Linked DNA regions of Homo sapiens: all the other regions are linked to region 2. The links are contacts of gene promoters, found by promoter capture Hi-C in human tissues and cell types (Jung and others, 2019). All regions are on one chromosome and are shown on one strand. Each heading gives the region's core, a stretch centred on a gene start or on the middle of the fragment in contact. The rest is flanking DNA. Distances are from core to core; before and after follow the strand shown. Region 1 holds the start of APOD (apolipoprotein D). Region 2 holds the start of LSG1 (large 60S subunit nuclear export GTPase 1). Region 3 overlaps ACAP2 (ArfGAP with coiled-coil, ankyrin repeat and PH domains 2).

Region 1 (3,094 bases), core at 257-2,756, 910 kb after region 2:
TAAGTATAATTTAAATATTATTTTTGGCCGGGCATGATGGCTAATGCCTGTAATCCCAACACTTTGGGAGGCCGAGGTGGGCAGATCACTTGAGGTTAGGAGTTTGAGACCAGCCTGGCCAACATGGCGAAACCCCGTCTCTACTAAAAATACAAAAAATTAGCCAGGTGTGGTGGCAAGTACCTGTAATCACAGCTACTCGGGAGGCTGATGCAGGATAATTGCTTGAACATGGGAGGCAGAGGTTGCAGTAAGCCAAGATCACACCATTGCACTCTAGCTTGGGCAACAGAGCAAAAACTCCATCTCAAAAAAACAAAACAAAAACAAACAAACAAAAAATACAAAAATTAGCTGGGCATGGTGGTGCAGTCCTGTAATCCCAGCTACTTGGGAGGCTGAGGCACAAGAATGGCTTGAACCTGGGAGGCGGAGGCTGTAGTGAGCCGAGATCGCGCCACTGCACTCCAGCCTGGGTGACAGAGTGAGACTCCGTCTCAAAAAAAAAAAAAAAGAAATATGATTTTTAACAGAATATGAGGTAATTAAAAAGCAATCCAACTAAGGTGACAGTGCATCCACCTTGGGCCTGGCACTAGCTGGAAATCACTGCTCCACTTGCATTAAGCTTACCCGTGGAGAAGCCCTGGTCCCAGGATTTTAAGGGTGCTATGCGCTCAGTCTCCACAGCACCTCCTCTGGAGGCGACCTCTGCTGACACTCTCTTCATACCAACGAGGTGAATTTGCCCGGGTTACTTCCTGGTAAACTACGAAGCCACAGTGTAAGCCTAGGCCTGGGGACAGGCTAGAATGTAAGCCTAGGTCTCCCACAAGCCCGCGCTCTTAGTGCCTGGGGACACAGCCCCTGACCTCAAAGATCTGCAGAACGTGAAGGACTAGATTTTGAAATTTCACCTCATAAAATAAAATAGGTTCCAATAAGTCATTAGGTCTCAAAGACTCATTTAGCCATTAAATATAACAAGACACGTATCTCCCAAACACAATATTTTATGCCATATTGTCAAATGCATTTTCTAGTCACACCATTAATTCCAGTTTCCAGATTATTTTACTGCGATGCACCGTTGGACAGCTTGCTGAGAATTCACCTAGGACGGTGTTTGTGCATGGAAACACCTCGTTGTCCAGTTTGGAGGGGTAAGCAAAAGACGCTGGGATGAGTTCACACTGGGTTTGGTTTTATCTTAGGCATGTTGCTAGTGTATCTGAACCTCAGCTTTATCACTGGAAAAATGGCTCTGATGATACCTACCTTGTACATTTGTTTGAGGAAAAATGAGAACAAGTCTAAAGCTACCGGCACAAGCTCTCAATCAGTGGTAGTTATATGTAGCTGAAATGGGGCAATGGAGAGTCTAGACTGTTTCTATTTTAGACATTATTATCATAAATGAAAAGCTTAAAACTACAGTACATACCTTTTCTTTCAAGATGAAGGCAGTTTCCAGATGCAGAATCAGCCGATTTGAGATGCCTGTCTTGGTGACTGGCCTCTCCCAAGCTATTTTATAAGCTTCTTCAGGTCTCTGATGTTTACTTTTCATGCATGCCACGCCCGCCGCCCCCATCCAGTCAGGAGGGTTGGCCTAAAAGCTTAGTCTGTATCGAAACACAAAGATGGGATGTTGTGTCCATCCTCCTCCCCCGATTTCCTTCACAGCTGCTCCCTGAAGAAGAAATGAGATATTGTTTTCGCGCGCGCGTGTGTGTGTGTGTGTGTGTGTGTGGGTATGTGTGCGAGAGAGAGAGAGAGTATGTGTGAGAGAAAGATAAAGTATATTTTCATCCAAAACATTTTTTTTTTTGCTATGTGGATTTTCTAATTTAATTTTTTTGGTCAGAATGCACTTTTAAGTTCCAGCAGGACGTGTTGCAACATGTTTTCAAACATCTGGTATTTATTTTTCATTTTTGTGTAAATGAAAAATCAACAAGCTCATTTCCTGAAGTGGAACATGGAGTTCCTGACTCCACTAATGGGAGTCAGGTAATGGCGCGAGGGTTATGAGTCAAAGCTGGCTTTCTCCAGGATCCTGGGCAGCCCCCTAACTTCTCTGAGCCACAGTCTCCTCGTTGTAAGTAGGGGCTGTCATTCTTTCTCCACCAGAGCCAGACGTGTAGGGGAGATACCAGTTCTCTAACAACTGGGGCTAAAAGTTGAGAATGCAGAAGACATCTTCTGTCGCTCTGTTCTCTGTCCCTTTTATGACCCTTGCAGCGAGAAGTTCAAGACAGTCTGTCACTGCTTGGGGGTGGGGGCCGGGGTGGTGGGGAGTGTGGACTTAAACCCAGGGGTGCTTTTGGTCCAGCCTTATCTCTCCTGGTGGAATGAACAACTTTGACTCTTGTGAGTGAGATTCTATGTCTTTGTGATAGGCAGGAGGTATGTTTAGAGACATTTAGATAAGGCAGTGCCTTCGTAGTAGACTTAGACTCCTAAATGAAATTCATTCTAAAATATGTAAGCAACAGAGATACATTTACAGCACTGAGTCTATAAACATGAAAACAACAACACAGATCCGTAACATCCCAAACGTTGTGAGCGCTTTCTTTAAGATGTTCTTTGCCTTTTCAGAAACATAAGAAATTCCTACTACCACCCAGGGCCTGCCTCTCGCTGACCTCCTGTGCTGCCCTCCCCTAAGAGCTCTGTGTAGCTCCCTTCCCCACTCCAGGTCCCTGATCAGATGACACTTTTCCCTAAAAAGCTTCCTGACCTTTCAAAAATAGCACTCTTGTCACTGTCCCTTTCCCTGCTTCATTATATCTTTACCTGAAATTCTCTCCTTTATTTATACATTATCCTGCTTAGTATGTTTTCCCCAGGAGGATAGGAGCTTGAGGCGTGCCAGGAGTTTGTCTCTTTGACTCTGTGTTGTGCCCCAGTGGCTAAGCACATACTAAGTGCTCAGTAAATACTTATAAATTAAATGGATGCTATCCAAAGAACTTAATGAGTTTCTAAGATATACAAAAGGCCCCAGAGGTAATATTCACGCGATTTTGATTTCAATTGTATTTCTGGAGAAGCACTAGCCTGTATGTTTCTGTCTTCTTCACCTGTA
Region 2 (2,871 bases), core at 362-2,861:
AAGTACCGTTCAGTACAGTAAAATGGCAATAGAAGAATACTGAAACCACACCCTATTACATGCAACATTCTGATATTTCTCTATCTTGCTGGGGAAAAAATAAAAACAAAACAAAACAGCTAGCTGCAGACCACTAAATTGACTTCCAGACACAACCCAGAGTTTGATAACCATCACCCTAAGCTATATACTTAGTATAGATACAAATAAAAAAAAATTGCCAGGCGTGGTGGTTTGTGCCTGTAACCCCAGCTCCTCAAGAGGCTAAGGCAGGAGGATTGCTTGAGGCCAGGAGTTTGTGATCAGCTTGGGCAACACAGCAAGACCCTGTCTCTCCAAAACAAACAAACAAAACCAAACAACCAGGCCTGATGGTGTGCACCTGTAATGCCAGCTACTCAAGAGACTGAGGCAGGGGGATTATTTGTGCCCAGAAGTTTGAGACTGTAGTGAATTGGTGAGTTATGATCACACCACTGGCACTCTAGCCTGGGTGACAGAGTGTGACCCTGTCTCTAAAAATGAATAACTGAATGATGAATGAATTTCCTAAATAAATATTAAGGGCCAAAAGTTTAAGTGGGCATAGAATCAGCAAAAATAAGGAATTAGGATCCAATTCTTTACCATTCATGTTCAATCTTCCCACAGTTTCCTAAAAGGCTTCATTAGTAACAAGTTGCTTCAAAGCTAATAAAAATTACCAGTAATCTAATGTCCAGAGTAACTCTGACCTGATGAATACTGATAAGCACTCCATGCTGTTTACTCTGCAGACTATATGGATGAAAGTCAGCTGGTGTGACAGTGGCACACGCTTACTTAGCTCCAGGGACATATTTAACTAAATTTAGCACACGATCTTAGCACTCAACATGTTCTCATTCATTCCCGGGGGAATGAATGGTGAAAATAACGACTAGAATGATGAACACAAGCCAAATCACTTCATTCATTTTTTTAAAGATCCTTCTATAACCTAGTAAAATATTAGGTCTTGTCACACCTGAAAAATCAATGATTTATCTTTGAGCTAAACCACTAGGGGGTGCTTCGCAAGGATGAGGCAAGGATCTGAATTATTTTATATTTCTGGCAGTAACCAACCGCTTCTGGAGGATCCATTCTTTGAACAAATCAATACAAAAATACGTTTTGTCTTTTTCCTGCTCTGGAAGTTCCAAGCACTTCAGTGGCTTCTAGGGCAAAACCCAAACGTACTCAAGACCTGGCATTGAAGACTCTTCAGATTCTCACTCCACGCCTCATCACCACACTAACTCTTCTTTCAAGCTTCTCCTACCTTTGTGTTCTGGGCCTTGCCAGGAGGAGGGCCTGCTACTCAGCTTGGCAGAAACTCCAACTCATCCTTCAAAACCCGGCTGAGGCGTCCCTCCTGCAAAACTTATCTGACTTTTGACCCCGAATTTTGCAGCACTCAGGCTAGACAGAAAAGATAAGAAAGATGACATGGTCTGTCTTACCCAGGAGTCAGTGTGACGATGGCTTCGGCTCCGCTGAGTCTGATGGCGCATAAGGGCCCGTCCCAGCGACCCACCGGCCGGGGCTCTCCTCCGGCCCATGGCAACACGACCGCTGGACGAAGCTTCCCGGCTCGGCGCGTGCAGTTTCCGGGATTCACAGTTCGATCCCCGGAAGTGACGATAAGCGAGCCCAAGTAGTTCAGGCTCAAACTTGAGAGGGGAAAGCAGAATGACTTGTTCTCAAGTTCTCCTTTTACGTCTCGATTTTACCAGTATTATAGAATATAAGTGAAAAAATGGTTCTGGGAAATTTTCGATAGATTTCCTGGCGAATGTCTCGAGTTTGGATAAATGACTGAGTTAAAAGAATGGTCCATTCTTAATTTGTGCGTCGGTCTTTAGCGTCCGGCGAGAAACTAGAGCACGTCGGAAACATGGCGGTTCCTATTCGCGGCACTAGCTCCGCCTTCCGCTGCTTCCGTCAGGAGGACGCGGAGACTCGGAGGAAGAGTGTTTCGGTGGCGCTGGGACGGGGGCGTTTCCCAGCGCTGGTTTTCTGCTGGCGTCCCGAGGTGTGGTCTCTCCGAGGTCCAGCACAGCAACTAACTTTTTGTTTATCTAGCCGACCCCAGCTGCGAACTGGGGAGAAAAGTCTTCGCCTGGATGTGAATTTGGAATGAGAGGCTGAATAGTATTTCCAGAGCTTGGCAAGGTTGTAGGAAAAGCCAACAGGAAGTGACTTACGCTTTATTTCAAAGAAAAAAAAAATGTTTAAACAGTTCTAATTATATTTTCATTACCCTTTTTAAAAATAATTAAAATGAAAGTGAAAACAGTGAGCCAGCTCCACTCCTAGAGGCCTGGGCTTTTGTTCCTCACTTGAATGTTTGATTTCCCTATAATGGGAATAATAGAAAGTCAGCTTAGAGTGGCTGGTGAACTACATTCTCATTGATCCAGAGAACCATCTCTTTGTTTTGATGCTTGGAGAGAGGAAGCAGCTTGAGCAAGTCGTAGATTGAGTGCGTGCAGTGTCAGGAATAAACCCAAGTCTTGTCACTAGCCTGTACACCCCTGGGGAGAGTGGGGAATGAGGGTTGTTAACATGTATTATTTATTTATTTTTATCTTTTGAGACAGAGTCTCGCTGTCCCCCAGGTGGAGTGCAAAGGCATGATCTCGGCTCACTGCAACCTCTGCTTCCCGGGTTCAAGTGATTCTCCTGCCTTAGCCTCCCGAGTAGCGGGAATTACAGACACGTGCCACCGCACCCAGCTAATTTTTGTATTTTTAGTAGAGACAGGGTTTGACTATTTTGGCCAGGCTGGTCTCGAACTCCTGACCTCAGGTGATCGCCCGCCTCGGCCTCCCAAAGTGCTAGGATTAC
Region 3 (3,189 bases), core at 439-2,938, 770 kb after region 2:
CTTAACATATAGAGTAAATGAGTGAATTCTCTTCCAGGACCACCATGTGAAAGTTCACCATTAAGAAAGTCAATTACTAGCAAAAGAAGTAACTATTTTTAAAAAGTCAATTAATCTATCAAAATGTCCAGTTGCAGATTTTTCCGGATTTTTTAAAACATTTTTGAGTCTGGTCGAGGTGGCTCACACCTGCAATCCCAGCATTTTGGGAGGCCGAAGCTGGTGGATCACAAGGTCAGGAGTTCAAGACCAGCCTGGCCAACATAGTGAAACCCCGTCTCTACTAAAAATATAAAAAATTAGCCAGGTGTGGTGGCAGGCGCCTGTAATCCCAGCTACTCGGGAGGCTGAGGCAGGAGAATCACCTGAACCAGGGAGGTGGAGGTTGCAGTGAGTGGAGATTGCACCACTGCACTCCAGCCTGGGCGACAGTGTGAGACTCTGTCTCAAAAAAAAAAAAAAAAAAAAGCAAAAAAAAACCCACATTTTTAAAATGAGGATAAGTCCTACTTTACATGCTTTTTTTTTTTTTTTTTTTTCATTAAAATTAGAGACAAGGTCTCTATGTTGCCCAGGCTGGTCTCAGGCAATCCTTCCACCTCGACCTCACAAAGTGCTGGGATTACAAATGTAAGCCATTGCGCCCCACCTGCAAGAATTTTCTTTTTTTTTTTTTTGAGATGGAGTCTCACTCTGTCCCCCAGGCTGGAGTGCAGTGGCGCAATCTCAGCTCACTGCAACCTCTGCCTCCCAGGTTCAAGCAATTCTCCTGCCTCAGCCTCCCGAGTAGCTGGGATTACAGGTGCCCACCATCACGCCCACCTAATTTTTTTGTATTTTTAGTAGAGATGGTGTTTCACCATGCTGGCCAGGCTGGTTTCGAACTCCTGACCTCAACTGATCTGCCCACCTCAGCCTCCCAAAGTGCTAGGATTACAGGTTTGAGCCACCACACCCAGTCAGGATTCCTGTATTTTGGTTCATAATAAAATTACTTTATAATTCCATTCTACTGCTTCTGAGATTAAAAAAAAAAAAAATTTCCCCTCAGCCCTTACCCACTGTATTAACAGGCAGTTGCTAAAAGTTTATTATAAAGATGGAAGGCAAAGGAAGGAGACAAGATTGGCACCAATCCAGACTTAATAGCAACACATAACTGAGGTGTATTTAGTAGTCACATTTTATTCCAATGTCTTTCGCCCATTAAAACCTTTCACCTGACTGGGCATGGTGACTCATACCTGTAATCCCAGCTACTCAGGAGGCTGCGGCAGGAGAATCACCTGAGTCCAGGAGTTGGAGAACAGCCTGGATAACAAGTAAGACTCTGTCTCTCAAACATAATTCACCCACAAACACCCTTTTTAAAAAAAAAGTTATTCTAAGTTACTGAACAAGAATCGTATCTAGCCGGGCATGGTGGCTTATGCCTGTAATCCCAGCACTTTGGGAGGCTGAGGCGGGCGGATCACCTGAGGTCAGGAGTTCGAGACCAGCCTGGCTAACATGGTGAAACTCCGTTTCTACTAAAAATACAAAAAATTAGCCAGGCGTGGAGGTGCACGCCTATAATCCCAGTTACTCGGGAGGCTGAGGCAGGAGAACTGCTTGAACCCAAGAGCCGGAGGGTGCAGTGAGCCGACATCGTGCCATTGCACTCCAGCTTGGGCAACAAGAGCAGAACTCTATCTCAAAAAAAAAAAGAATCATATCTGAAATAGAATCTAAAAATGAAAAACCTGCAGGATGGTGTATGATAGACATTGTTAAAGGATAAAAATAAATTATCAGATAAAAACTAAAGCATACCAAGGCTAAGGCCTTTTTTTTTTTTTTTTTAAGAGAGAGAGAGAGAGTCTAGCTCTGTTGCCCAGGCTGGAGTGCAGAGGTGTGAACATAACTCACTGCAGCCTTGACCTCCTGCCTCAGCTTCCCATGTAGCTGGAATCACAGATGCACGCCACCATGCCCAACTAATTTTTTTATTTTTGTAGAGACGGTGTCTCACTTTGTTGCCCAGGCTGGTCTCAAACTCCTGGCCTCAAGCGATCCTCTTGTCTCAGCCTTCCAAACTGCTGGGATTACAGGCATGAACCACTGCACCTGGCCACAATATTTTTATACTTGAACACTGCTGACAAAAATCTTTCATAATTCAGAAAGATGTTTATTTATTCAATTTATTTATTCTACTTTTTATTTCAAATAGATATTCACTTCCTAAGTAAAACAGAATACATTTTGGGTTTTTTTGTTTTTTTTGTTTTTTTTGTTTTTGAGACAGTCTCGCTCTGTTGCCCAGGCTGGAGTACAGTGGCACAACCTCAGCTCACTACAGCCTCTGCCTCCCAGGTTCAAGCAGTTCTCATGCCTCAGTCTCCCAAGTAGCTGGGATTACAGGTGCACACTACCACACCCGGCTAATTTTTGTATTTTTAGTAGAGATGGGGTTTTACCATGTTGGCCAGGCTGGTGTCAAACTCCTGACCTTAAGTGATCCGCCGTCCTCCACCTCCCAAAGTGCTGGGATTACAGATGTGAGCCACAGTGTTCAGCCCAAGAGTATGTTTAAGTAAAAGAAAAGCAGTACTTTTACGGAGGTTTTGTAAAATTTTAAAGACCTACTACATGCAACTACATACAATTAAGGGCCCAAACAAATTCCAACTTCAACATATTTTGGCCAAAATGCAAAATTTCCACTCAAAAAAAAGTATACTTAGGCACTTTACATTCCTGTAGATTTTTAGATGAACAAGGTTTTTAGATTTTAGATGAACAAGATTTTGACCTTTAAGCTGATTTTAAACTGGTATTTAAAAAACCAAAAAGGGAACCCAAAATTATACAACGAAATGTGCCCTCCAATCCAAAACAAAAAAAAAATGTTCACTGGGATGTAAAAGTAACCATTGACTATTCAAATTACAAAAGACAATGTTGCAAATGCAACATCCTTCTCCCTATTTCAACCAGTCCCCTTGTATTCTCCTCATTGATTTAACAGGAAAATAGATGTTTAAAGCTTGAACAGTGGTGAAATTTTCATCAGCAAGATGTGCCTTTTGCATTAATTCTACAGCACCAAGACAGTTATGTGCACACACTAGACTTAAATGCCACAAGATTCATTTATGAATAAAGACACGTATTAATTTAAAGACAGCCCAATAGATCAGGACACAA

What was found. Contacts are between HindIII fragments. The study calls those that stand out against the background at their distance.
Region 1: a contact is called between the fragment with the promoter of APOD here and the fragment with the promoter of LSG1 in region 2, in 4 of the 25 tissues and cell types used here (dorsolateral prefrontal cortex, hippocampus, mesenchymal stem cells and 1 more).
Region 3: a contact is called between a fragment that was not itself captured here and the fragment with the promoter of LSG1 in region 2, in 2 of the 25 tissues and cell types used here (dorsolateral prefrontal cortex and hippocampus).

Annotation. Positions count from the first base shown.
Region 1 is chr3:195,582,434-195,585,527 of GRCh38, forward strand. It overlaps APOD (apolipoprotein D), which reads right to left and starts at 1,507. Exons shown (of 5, transcript NM_001647.4): 1 at 1,445-1,507. RefSeq lists an enhancer at 958-1,127. The HindIII fragment of the contact is 4,834 bases long and covers 1,027-3,094 here.
Region 2 is chr3:194,670,580-194,673,450 of GRCh38, forward strand. It overlaps LSG1 (large 60S subunit nuclear export GTPase 1), which reads right to left and starts at 1,612. Exons shown (of 14, transcript NM_018385.3): 1 at 1,485-1,612. The coding sequence starts at 1,583. The HindIII fragment of the contact is 4,871 bases long and covers 1,450-2,871 here.
Region 3 is chr3:195,437,367-195,440,555 of GRCh38, forward strand. All of the region lies in intron 1 of ACAP2 (ArfGAP with coiled-coil, ankyrin repeat and PH domains 2), which reads right to left. Among named protein-coding and RNA genes, the nearest start is that of ACAP2, 4.1 kb to the right of the region's middle. The HindIII fragment of the contact is 4,179 bases long and covers 1-3,189 here.